Regions from separate parts of the Homo sapiens genome. Here regions 1, 3 and 4 are each linked to region 2. The links are contacts of gene promoters, found by promoter capture Hi-C in blood cells and fetal thymus (Javierre and others, 2016). All regions are on one chromosome and are shown on one strand. The core of a region is centred on a gene start or on the middle of the fragment in contact, and the rest is flanking DNA. Distances in the headings are between cores, read along the strand shown.

Region 1 (2,700 bases), core at 79-2,578, 1.1 Mb after region 2:
AAAAATCTGTAGTTTCACTCCTAAGGCCTTTGAAACCACAAACCCACAGGGAGAAATGAGTAACTCCAGACAAGCTGCCTTGAGAGCTGTATCATTTATCACTTAAGTCTGAAGGAAAAAACTAAACCCATCCAAACAACAAACGGAAGAAACTGGACATACTGCTTTTAACACACGTGGGGAGGGTCTGTGGTTTCATTATTGAAGTCAGTGAGACCAAGAGTCCACCAATTCTGGTCAGACCTACAGTGAGTAGAGATCGTGTCTTTGCATTCCCGTTTGGGCTATGGCGCCAGATTGTCCAGAAGGAAAAAAAAGATGTTGTGATGCTTGTAGTTGCAGTGCAGTGGGAGACTATGGCAAGCGGATTGTGAGGTCAGGAGTTTGAGCCCAGCATGGTCAATACGGTGAAACCGTGTGTCAAATGAAAATACAGAAATTAGCTGGGTGGAGTGGTATGTGCCTGTAGTCCCAACTACTTGAGAGGCAGGTGAATTGCTTGAGGTTGGGAGGTGGAGGTTGCAGTGAGCTGAGATTACCATTGCACTCCAGCCTGGGCAACAGAGTGAGACTCCGTCTCAAAAAAAAAAAAAGTGTGAAGTTCTGAGGGTTTGATGTACAGCATGAATGGTGATACATTACTTCATTTGATTGTGGCAATCCTTGCACAATGCATATATGTCAAATAATTATGTTGTACACCTTAAATATGTTCAATTTTTGACAATTTTTTTTAAGCTTTGACATTAAAGAAAAAGTATGAAAAGGTGTCATCAGGGTTGTATTCCTTCTGGAGAATCTGCTTGCTTAACTTTGCTGGCTTATAGCAGCTTCCTGCACTTCACGGCCTTTTTTTTTTTTTTTTTTTTTTTTTTTTTTTGAGATAGGATGTCACACTGTTGCCTGGGTTGGAGTGCGGAGTGGAACCATCTCAGCTCAGTGCAATCTCTGCCTTCCGGGTTCAAGCAATTCTCCCACCTCAGACTCCCAAGTAGCTGAGATTATAGGTGCATTGCACCGCAACCAGCTAAGTTTTTGTATTTTTGGTGGAGACAGTTTCACTATGTTGCTCAGGCTGGTCTCAAACTCTTGAGCTTGAACGATCTGCCTGCCTTGGCCTCCCAAAGCATTTTCTTCCATCTTCTAAGCCACCAACATGACATCTTCAAATCTCTGTTGCCATCCTCGCATTTCCTTTTCTGACTCTGACCCTCCTGCGCCCTCTTAGAGGAACTCTTGTGATTTCATTATGCCCTTGGAGAACCCAAAATCTCAAGATCCTTAATCACATTCACAAAGTACCTTTTGTGATATAAGGTAACATTCACAGGTTCTGGGGACTGGGACATGGACATCTTCGGAGGGTCATCATTGACCTTTCCGTTTGTACCATAAGTACAAAGGGAAACAGTGTCACATAATAATTTCCTGTATGGCCAACTTTTTCTTGCCAATAGAAGGAAAGGAATTTGCTGATGCTGGTGTGAGTTCTTATTCTAACTCGCTAGATGTCATTCCAAATGCCTTTATCATTTTAAATACCAAATATATATGGCATTCCGAATGATGAGTAACAGGAGACTATAAATAGGCCTCAAAGGCTGGAAAGTCTTAACAACAGAGCAGGAAAGTCTAAAATTACTTAAAAATTATTAAAGTGCAGTCCCTTTGCTTAATTTTTTAAAAGTGTTAGGCCTTAGATGCTTAGGATAAAAAGCCATCACCATCTTGATATTCTCTCTACTTAAAGGAAATCCATGTCTTTTAAAATCAATGTCTTTAAAACCACTCATTCTTCATTAAATTGTTGATTTAACCAATCAGTGTCTACTGAGCACTCACAATGTGCTAGGCACTGCAGTGGGCACTGGGCATAATATTGACCAAAATCAATATGATTTCCGCCCTTATAAGCTTACAGTCTCGTGGGAGATAGGAAAAGCAAGGAAATTATTAGCACACTGTGCAATAAGCGTGTGATAGGAATGATTCTCACTGCCGTCCAGTTATACCCCAGTCTTAGTGCTGGGCACTGTCCCTTCCATTCCACCATTTCATTCCTGGGTGTCAGGGTCCCATCACCTTCTGTTGGAGGAAAAACTTAGGAGTATTCCAAGCGCTTGATAAATGGAAGGGAGCAGCAACCCACACATTTCAATGAGAAAGCAACAATTTACGTATTATAATGGAAACTGTCAAGGAGAAGATGCACCCTTTTGGGGTACTGTGTGGTATGCCCTAGAATGGCAATGAATGGTTAGCAGGCATTGGTTGGGCTTTAACATGAATCCTGGTGTTGTTCACTATACAGTTAGCGATTCTGATGCTTGCCCCACTGCTGTGTGTTTGTCCTGCTAGGTTGGCCTCTCATTCCCACTCCCACCTCCTCTAAGGCCATGCACTTCCCTCCCCCATCACGTTCCTGCTCCTCCACCCAATCTCCACTTACACGCAGGGTAGGGAGGGGAGGCTTCATTTTCTTTCATCCTCTTTCTTCTGTTATTTTTACGGTCTAAACTCTGTTCTCTGATTCCCTCAGGACATATCTTCAGATATTCAAAATCCTGTTTAGAAGTTTTTAAAAAAAGAAACACTGAACATTGACTGTTTCCTGCTTTTTAAATTCCTGCTTTAACAATCCTCCTTCTCCTCCAGGCAAAGTAGATGCCTCTGACAACGGAAAAGTCACGCAAGCACAAG
Region 2 (2,700 bases), core at 130-2,629:
AAAGCCTTGAGTTATGTGTGTATACGTGGTGTGGGGGATTCCCCAACTGGAGTGGACTGGGGAGTCCTGCAGGCTTACCCAAGGGAAGACTGGACTTCTATGTGGCTGGTTTCCACATCACTGAACCCCAACTTTCTACAGCTGGGTCGGCCTCTTCCTTCCTCTTTCACCTGTCAGCTGCCCGGCCGTTGACTAACAGCTACCCTAATCGGGCCACCCCTCCTCCAGGTCTCCAATCCCAGAGGAGTTACCCCAGCAACCTGGCAATGCTCATCAAGTCTCAACGCGTGGTGGCTGTGCCAGAGAATTACTACAACACCTGCAAGGCTGTGCGGGCTCCTGGCCGCACCCTATCGGCCGGGAAGAACAAGCGAGGGAGTTCCTACTCCAGGACCGTGGGGTTCTCCCGCGGCTCTGACAGTCCCCAGGAGGGAGCCCCAAACTCCCGGTGCCAGCTGCAGCCGCCTCGCTTTCCGAGAAGCTTTCGGAAGCTTTTCGAAGTCGGAGAAGCAACTGCCCCGGGGCTCACCTTTGCGCTGAAGAGGTGCCGGGAGTCTCGGGGAAAAGGCACCGCTGTACAGAAAGGAAACATTGTAGGGGGGTTAGCCGACCGGCAACATCGCGACGAACCCGGCGACCCCACGCCCCAACACCCTAGCCCGGGAATTCCCCCTTCTTCAGACAGATACCCACCCCGCACCCTCTTTTAATCCGGGGCAGGAGGTATCCGTCCCTGGGGCACCCGCCCACCTCCCACCACGGCGAGGGGCGCTGCACAGGGGGAAAGGGAGGGCTTGCACCCCAACCAAGCTGCTTTGTGCAACGCTGTCACCCGAAATCCGCCACGGCCCCCACGCACGCCCCCGGAGTGGGGAGCCTCCCACCTCTGAGCGCCAGCGAGGCGGTGCGCGCCGCCCTGGACTGCGGGCGCCTCTCCGGAGCCGCGCGCCGCGCGCACAGGACGGCTGCAGCCGCGCCGCGAGCCCCAGCCTCTTCTCGGCCGCCGCCGCCGCCGCCGCTTCCGCCCCTGTCACGGCGTGACCCGGGGTGGGAGGAGCCGACAGGACTAGGGATGGGTAGGGTCCCCGCCTTCGCTTTAGCCGCAGCGCTCGCTCCGCCCTGCCCATTTCCGCCGCTGCGCAAACCCCGGCGCTTGGGGAAGTGGGTGGAGTCTGTGCAACGAGGTACGGGGCGGGAGTGGAGACGGGGCGCCGGGAGAGGGGGCGGGAACTGAGGCGGGGCGCGGGAAAGAGGCGGGGCGCGGGAAAGAGGCGGGGCGCGGGCGGAGGCGGGGCGCGGGCGGAGGCGGGGCGCGGGCGGAGGCGGGGCGCGGAGAAGTGGCGGAGGTGGAAGCGGAGGCGTACCCGCCCCTGGGGACGTCATTGGTGGCGGAGGCAATGGCCGGCAACCAGCTGTAAGCGAGGTAGGCTCACTCGGGCGCGGAGGGTGCGGGTGAGAAAGGGAACGATTTGCTAGGAGTGTATGCGCCCGTGCTAGGGCTCCCAGGAATTCTTACAAGCGTAGACAGCCTAGCAATCAGCCCTGTGAAGTGGGGTTCAGGGCAGAAGCGGAAACTGGGAATAACGAGGTCGGACAGTAAATGACCTGAATCCAATGTCCAGGATTTAAAGTGCTTCCAAAGCACTGGTGTGTTTTAATTATTTTTTTTTCTTTTTTCTTTTAGAGACAGGGTCTCCCTCTGTCGCCCATGCTAGCGTGCAGTGGCACAATCATAGCTCACTGTAACCTGGAACTCCTGGGCTCAAGTGATCTTCCCGCCCCAGCCTCCTCGGTAACTGGGACTACAGGCTCGCTGCACCACGCTTGGCTAATTTTTCAAATTTTTTTTTATAGAAACGGACTCTCGGTTTTTTCCCCAGCCTGGTGTATTAGTGATTTTTGGGAAAAAATAAGTACTGCCAAATAGTGAGTGATCCCTGGTGATGTGGGAAACTGGGGTGCTGTAAATATTCTGTCTTGCTCTGCGGTGGTTACACAGGTGTATGTATATGTAAAAAATTCACCGAGTCATACTCTTTTAAGATGTGTGCACCTTAGGAAAGTTTCTTCTCAATTTTATGAAATTTAAAAACAAAACTATAGCAGAAGCTTTTGAAAAGGTGAGAATGGAGACTAGAACAACTTGAGGACTTTGTTTGTGGGCAGAAATTTTTGTGAAATTTCCCTTCCTTAATTCTTGTAATGTGCACTTTTTTTGTATTATAGAAATAAACTTTATTTCTCTAGAAATGATGTATACAAGTGGAGTCCATGCTGAGAAACTGTTAGAACAGCTAAGACGTTGAGCCCAGGAGTTTGAGACCAGCCTGGGTAACATAGCAAGACCCTGTCTCTACAAAATATTTAAAAATTAGCCAGGCATGGTGGTGCACCCTTATAGTCCCAGGTACTCAGGAGGTTGAAGTGAGAGGATCGCTTGAGCCCCAGTGTTGGAGACGGAAGTGTCATTACACCACTGCACTCCAGCCTGGGGGATAGAGAGAGACCCTGTCTCAAAAACAAACAACTAAGACATGATTAAGTTATGTGCATGATTTTGTTAGACAGTTCAAGTTTGTGTGAAAGGAATAGAGTTGTGCTACTCCAGGCTGCTGTGGAACTCTGATAAAGATTATGCTTCTCTTTTAAGTAGAGAACTGCTTTATGAAGCCTTGAATTTAGGTTCCAGAGTTTCTGAAT
Region 3 (2,700 bases), core at 1-2,500, 1.4 Mb after region 2:
CCGCACTGAGCGCCCTTAGTCTGGAGGCGCCTCCTAGTCCTCCAGGTGCCACACCTGTTGGCAAGGTGCACCCATCCGAAGAAGATTCCTTCGCGTGGAGGTCACACCTGGCGGCGAGACAGGCGGAGGGGCGGGGTGGTGGGAGTCGGAGACCGCACTGAAACCCTGAGTCCAGATTTAAGTTCCTCGTCGATTCTCGAGAACTGCCATTTGATGCTCCGGTTGCTTTCTCTGTCTCCTACACTGGTTACCTCATTTCCGATTAAATTAATGATCCGAAATTAGCTGCGAGAGGAGTGCGCGGGTCTCCTTTCCAGGCTAGAGCGGAGTAGTTCCATATCAAAGCCGATTTCCGGACCTGCGTGCGAAGAGAGAAAGAGGGCAGGGTCGGGCGGTCGCCAGCGTTCGCCGGCAGGAAAGGTGAGGGTACCTGTGCAGTCGGGGGACCCCTTGAAACTTTCCGGAGTTGCACGCAGAGGCAATCCCCGCGGCCCCCAGGCCTGGGTTCCGGAACGCCGAAGCGACGCCGGTTTGTGGCTTAACGTGCAGCTGATGATCAGAGTGAGCCCTCTCAGATGCTGCTCCGAGCGCCTGGGACCAAGGACACGTCGGGATTAGAATGGGCCGACCTCCCCTCCCCGCTGGGGTGTTGCATCGGCTCCCAGCTGAAGCCTGACAGCCCTTGGGGGAGTCCCCCAGGTTGCCTGAGTAGCGCCCCGTTGTCGTTCAGTCCCCTCCAACTAGGTGCAGGGACCCAGGGAGGCGCGCGAGGACCGACCCGTCACCGCTCAAATTACCTCATCGCCCAGCTCCCCGCCCCCTTCCCAAACCTGGAAGGAACCTTGCCCTCCGGTCCGCGTCTCCCCTCCCCCGCACCCCATCCCGAGCCACTCTTTGGGAAAGGTGCCCGCCTCCCCGGGCGGCGCGCAGCGAAGGGTTAAGGGCGCGGGCCGGCCGCCGCGCGGTGCGCTCGCCGTGCTCTGTGCGGCTCGCCGGGCCGCCCGCCAGAGGGTGCCCCCCACCCCCATGAAGTCGGATCCTTGAGCTGCGGCGGCGGCAGCCAACTGCTCCATATTTGGCTTCTATTACACATTTACATACTGGAGCGAGCGAGCGAGCGAGCGCGAGAGAGCGCGAGGGAGGGAGGGAGGGCGGGCGGGCGGAGGGAGGAGGGAGGGGAGGGGAGCGGGAGGAGGGGGAGGAGGAGGAGGAGGAGGAGGAGGAGAGAGCAGAGTATACCGCAGACATCATTTCTACTACAGTGGCGGAGCCGTACAGGACCTGTTTCACTGCAGGGGGATCCAAAACAAGCCCCGTGGAGCAGCAGCCAGAGCAACAGCAGCCGCAAGACATTGTTTCTCTCCCTCTGCCCCCCCTTCCCCACGCAACCCCAGATCCATTTACACTTTACAGTAAGTGACTATTTTTTTTTCCTCCTCCGATTCTTTCCCCCCTCCCCCATTCCCTTCTCCCCTTATTTAGATTAAAATCCCTCCTCCCCCGATCTCCCGAGAGGGGCAAAAGCAACAACCAGCAAACAAACCCAAAACCCCAATCGGCTGCACGGAAAACAGCTGGAAGAGGAGCGAAGGAAATCGACGCGTCGTGTTCTGTGTGTGTGCGTGTGTGTGTGTGTGTGTGTGTATGTGTGTACATACAACCGTCCCCGGCTCCAGGCTCCCGGGCCGACACCCCCACTCTGGGCGCAGGGGCGGCCGGCGGGGGGGCTGTCAGGGGCTGGGTGGGCGCCCGCCGGGCTAGGGGGCGCGCCCGGGCGGGGGGCGCGGGCGGGGAGAGCGGCGGCGGCGCCCCGCTCCCCCGGCTGCTGGTCCGGTCGCAAGTGCGGAGAGCCATGTCCTCCTCCCTCCGGGTGGCGCAGGGGGGAGGCGGCGGCTGGGGTTGGGGGGTGGTCCCTTTCCCGGCCGCCCTCTTCCCATTCCTCCTCCCCGGAGAGGGCGGTGAGAGAGAGGGGGTCTCACGGAGGGCTGGACTTCTCCGCGGGTGGTCGCCCGGCCTCGGCGCCCTGGGGCGGGGGTCTCCCCTCGGAGGGCCGGCCTCGCCGGGTGTGCGGCTGCGGGCGGGGAAGGGACTGCTCCTGCAGCCGGGACGGGACTTTGCGCGCGGCCGGGTGCCGGGCGGGGGGCGCAGAGGGGTGGCCTCGGGGACCGCGCGGGGGTAGCGGGTGTGCGGGTGCCTGGAGCGCGGCTGGAGTGGCGGTGACGGCCCTGGCCGCCGCCGCCACCGCCGCCCTGTTGGTGCGGCCGCTTCCTGATCATGTGCAGCGGCAGCCGCCGCCCGGAGCCGGGAGCCCGCGAGCGCCCCAGTCCGGGCCGGCGCCCCCGCCAGCACCCGCGGCAGGAGACGAGGAGCCGCGGCAGGCGCTGCCCTGAGCCGGGAGTGAACGGCTGCGCGGCTGCTGGGAGGGTGAATGAAGCCAGGAGGAGGGGAAGGAGGAGGAGGCGGCGGCCGCCGCGGAGGAGGCGCTGCGGGGATTGGGATGCGCCCTGGAGCCCCACTGCTCGTTCACTCTGGGCCGGGCCGGAGACTCTGCCACTCCCGGGGGCGCCGCCGCCTCCTCCTACGTGGTTCCAGTGCTGCGCGCAGGCCGGTCCCGCAGGGGGCAGGGAAGGGGGCCGGACGGGCGGAGCGAGAGGTGAGGCGGTGTCGGAGCGCGGCGTGAGTGTGAGTGAGTGTGTGAGT
Region 4 (2,700 bases), core at 102-2,601, 1.7 Mb after region 2:
GGGTTTAGTGTCCTGCATGCCCCAAAGCCTGTGCCATGGAGAACTGTTGCAGTAGAGAAGGCAGGCAATTTTCAAAGAATGCATGTTTGCACATAAACAGGGTCTAGGAGTGGGTGTATAAATGTGTGAGTGATAATCACAGCAGCCATTGGAAGTAGTGGTTCCCATGCTCAGCAGTCCTTGCAGATGTTACTCCTGGCATTCATTCCTGTGCATGTCCCATTAACTGCCTCTCAAATCTGCCACCACTTGCCAGCAGATGGCCTTTGCCCCTGAAGATGTTTCAGACTGGCTGTAAGGGCTGGGGGGAGGGGGGATCTTGTACAAGAAGAGAATGATGCTGACACTGAACTCAGAGTTAGCAGACCTGGATTTTATGCACAATGCTGTTGTTAGCCATATAACCTTGGGTCCTCTCTACCATGGGGACTCATTTTATGATGGACAACTTGAGAAAATTGAGTTAAATCACCTCCAGTGGTGGTTTTTACCCTAAGTGTCTCAAGTTGCATAAAGTATCAGCCTTAGATGAGGCCAATTGAACGTTTATTTTACCTTCTTGGGTTCCTAAAAATCAATGATTTGGCACTACCTCATTTACAACTGTTTTTAAAACATTGAGCACAGTCTTAGGGTTAAAAGAAAAAAAGAGTTATTACATCTTTCACTACCATGAAACCCTTTCCACAAGACCCTCCTGGGCACCATATGACAATTCAAAGGTATTTATTTGAGACTGTCCTTAGACTATAGCTTTAGCTGTTTAAATTTAGGGTCCACACTCATTGGTCCTTTTGAAAATAAACAGGAACGATTTTTGAACTTGAGTTTTCTAAAACCACCTCTGTGCTCAAATATTGGTTAGAGTCTAAGCAAGGAGAAAGTGATCCATATTTCATTCCTAAGCTTCTCTGCTTCCTTAAGTAGGAATTCTTGAGTTACCTTATCAAAGCAGCCTTCCCTGATCTACATAAAATAGCATCCACCCCATCCCTCTCAGTCCTCTAGCCTTCTGTGTTTTTCTTTTAAGCACCTTACATATTATATATTTATTTGTTAATCATCAGTCTCCTCAACTAGTCTGCAAGCTCTGCAAAAGGAGGGATGGTATTCTTATCCTTATTCTCATTCTTATTCTTCCCTGGTGAATGAATAGTACCTAAAATACTGCTTGTTCCCATAATGGGCAGTCAGTAAATATTCATTGAGTGAATGCCTAAATGACATTCACTAAGTGAATGCCTCTCATGTGTGGGCCTGAGCCATTAGGAAAAGGAACATACATGCTGTTCTGATGAGAATGCTTGAATCTGATAGCAGTTTAAGGGTGTGGGGAAGGGATGGAGAGTCTAGACTATTTTCCTTAGAAGTGGATACTTGATGTGTATAAAGAAATGTGAGGAGGGAACAATTTGTGTAAAAAAAAAAAAATTCTAGACCTATCAGTAGAGTTTGGGGATTTTCTAATACTTTTTTTAAAAGTCTGCACTGTCTGTATTTCCTCTCCTTTTCCATTTGAGTGGTTTGCTTTGTCACTTGTTTGTGAGCATCCTGCCCTGGCTTTCTGTGAACGGCGGTGGTTTTGTCTCTTATCATCACATCATTTCATCACTGCTTACGTTCATATTTCTTTTCAAAGTAGGGATGGGCCTGAAGTGCTGTATCTCCCTAGAAAGGGGCTGACTGAATAACACTTCATTCTAGTGCACACCTTAGAATGAAAAAATGGTGTGCTGGTACAAATGAAACCCATTTAATGTCTCTGTGGTGTGTGATGGGAAGTTCACAAAAGCTTTCTTAGGGAGGCATTGTGCTAGTTAGCTTTTGAGGACAGCAATAATAAAGGTTTCTGGAATTTTGTGTGTCTATGGACTCCCTTTTCAGAATAACTGCTCTGAGTGCAGGCATTACTTTATTCCTAGGAAGAAATGGAGAGACTAAAATAAATACCTCTGTACCTGTGTAAACAGCATTATGCTGTCTGTGTAAGTCTTAAAAAATGGGAGCTGAATTTCTCTTACTCTGAATCTCCAGACTAAGAGAATTGCACACACACGCACACTCTAATAAGAGCAATCTGGGAATTTCCCTCTGTGTCTGTCAGTTTGTACCTTTTAGATTTGCCATCTGTGATACCAAATTCTCCAGCGTTACAAAAAAAAAATCTGAAGTAGATAAGAGGGTCAGGAGAGAAGGGGAGATTCCACCACTTTTGGACAAGTGAGGGAGAACAATCTCCTTTTTCTTAAATCCTTGCTTGTAATGCTCCTGCAGATTGACCTACAGATTGTAAAGGCAGAGAGGTTATGACTGAGCTCATTCCATCCAAGTGCACTGGGGATAGCTTCAAGTCTTCTAGAGTTTTCTCTTTCACCCATTTCTCTCTCTTCCTCAGACTTCCTTGAATGGCTTCTGATTGACAGCTTCACTAGTTCCTGGCCATTGCCCCTGGTGTGTTATTTGGGATGGGCACCTTTGGCAGGGTCTTTGCAGGAGTCACTGCTTCTAAGAAGTGGTGTCAGAGCTACCTCCTGAGGCAACTGACAAAGCGTAGCCCATCCCAGGCACACCCTTTCCCCTCAGCACCTTCTTCCTCAAGTACTCAGCTCCTCCTCTCAGCATCTTGGAGAGGAGGAGGAAAATGCAAAGAACACCCAGACGTTGTGGAAGGAAAAAAGTTCATGGATCTTTTACAACATT

Evidence for each region. Contacts are between HindIII fragments. The CHiCAGO score rates a contact against its expected background, and 5 or more counts as called.
Region 1: a fragment that was not itself captured here is called in contact with the fragment with the promoter of TPMT in region 2 in 1 of 17 cell types (total CD8 T cells); the score reaches 5.6 in total CD8 T cells.
Region 3: a contact is called between the fragment with the promoter of ATXN1 here and the fragment with the promoter of TPMT in region 2, in 6 of 17 cell types (naive CD4 T cells, total CD4 T cells, total CD8 T cells and 3 more). The highest score is 18.4, in naive CD4 T cells.
Region 4: a fragment that was not itself captured here is called in contact with the fragment with the promoter of TPMT in region 2 in 1 of 17 cell types (fetal thymus); the score reaches 5.0 in fetal thymus.

The regions. Positions count from the first base shown.
Region 1 is chr6:17,012,727-17,015,426 of GRCh38, reverse strand. No RefSeq gene overlaps it. Among named protein-coding and RNA genes, the nearest start is that of STMND1, 88 kb to the left of the region's middle. The HindIII fragment of the contact is 1,176 bases long and covers 741-1,916 here.
Region 2 is chr6:18,153,756-18,156,455 of GRCh38, reverse strand. TPMT (thiopurine S-methyltransferase) reads left to right here and starts at 1,379. Exons shown (of 9, transcript NM_000367.5): 1 at 1,379-1,423. KDM1B (lysine demethylase 1B) reads right to left here and starts at 1,034. Exons shown (of 22, transcript NM_001364614.2): 1 at 885-1,034; 2 at 530-573. RefSeq lists an enhancer at 94-333 and a silencer at 774-1,333. The HindIII fragment of the contact is 1,618 bases long and covers 494-2,111 here.
Region 3 is chr6:16,760,010-16,762,709 of GRCh38, reverse strand. It overlaps ATXN1 (ataxin 1), which reads left to right and starts at 1,250. Exons shown (of 8, transcript NM_001128164.2): 1 at 1,250-1,412. It overlaps ATXN1-AS1 (ATXN1 antisense RNA 1), which reads right to left and starts at 1,572. Exons shown (of 3, transcript NR_136240.1): 1 at 1,544-1,572; 2 at 431-591; 3 at 1-358. RefSeq lists an enhancer at 1-796 and silencers at 797-1,116, 934-1,149, 1,157-1,316, 1,793-1,922, 1,993-2,472 and 1 more. The HindIII fragment of the contact is 4,299 bases long and covers 1-2,700 here.
Region 4 is chr6:16,480,744-16,483,443 of GRCh38, reverse strand. All of the region lies in intron 6 of ATXN1 (ataxin 1), which reads left to right. Among named protein-coding and RNA genes, the nearest start is that of GMPR, 240 kb to the right of the region's middle. The HindIII fragment of the contact is 886 bases long and covers 909-1,794 here.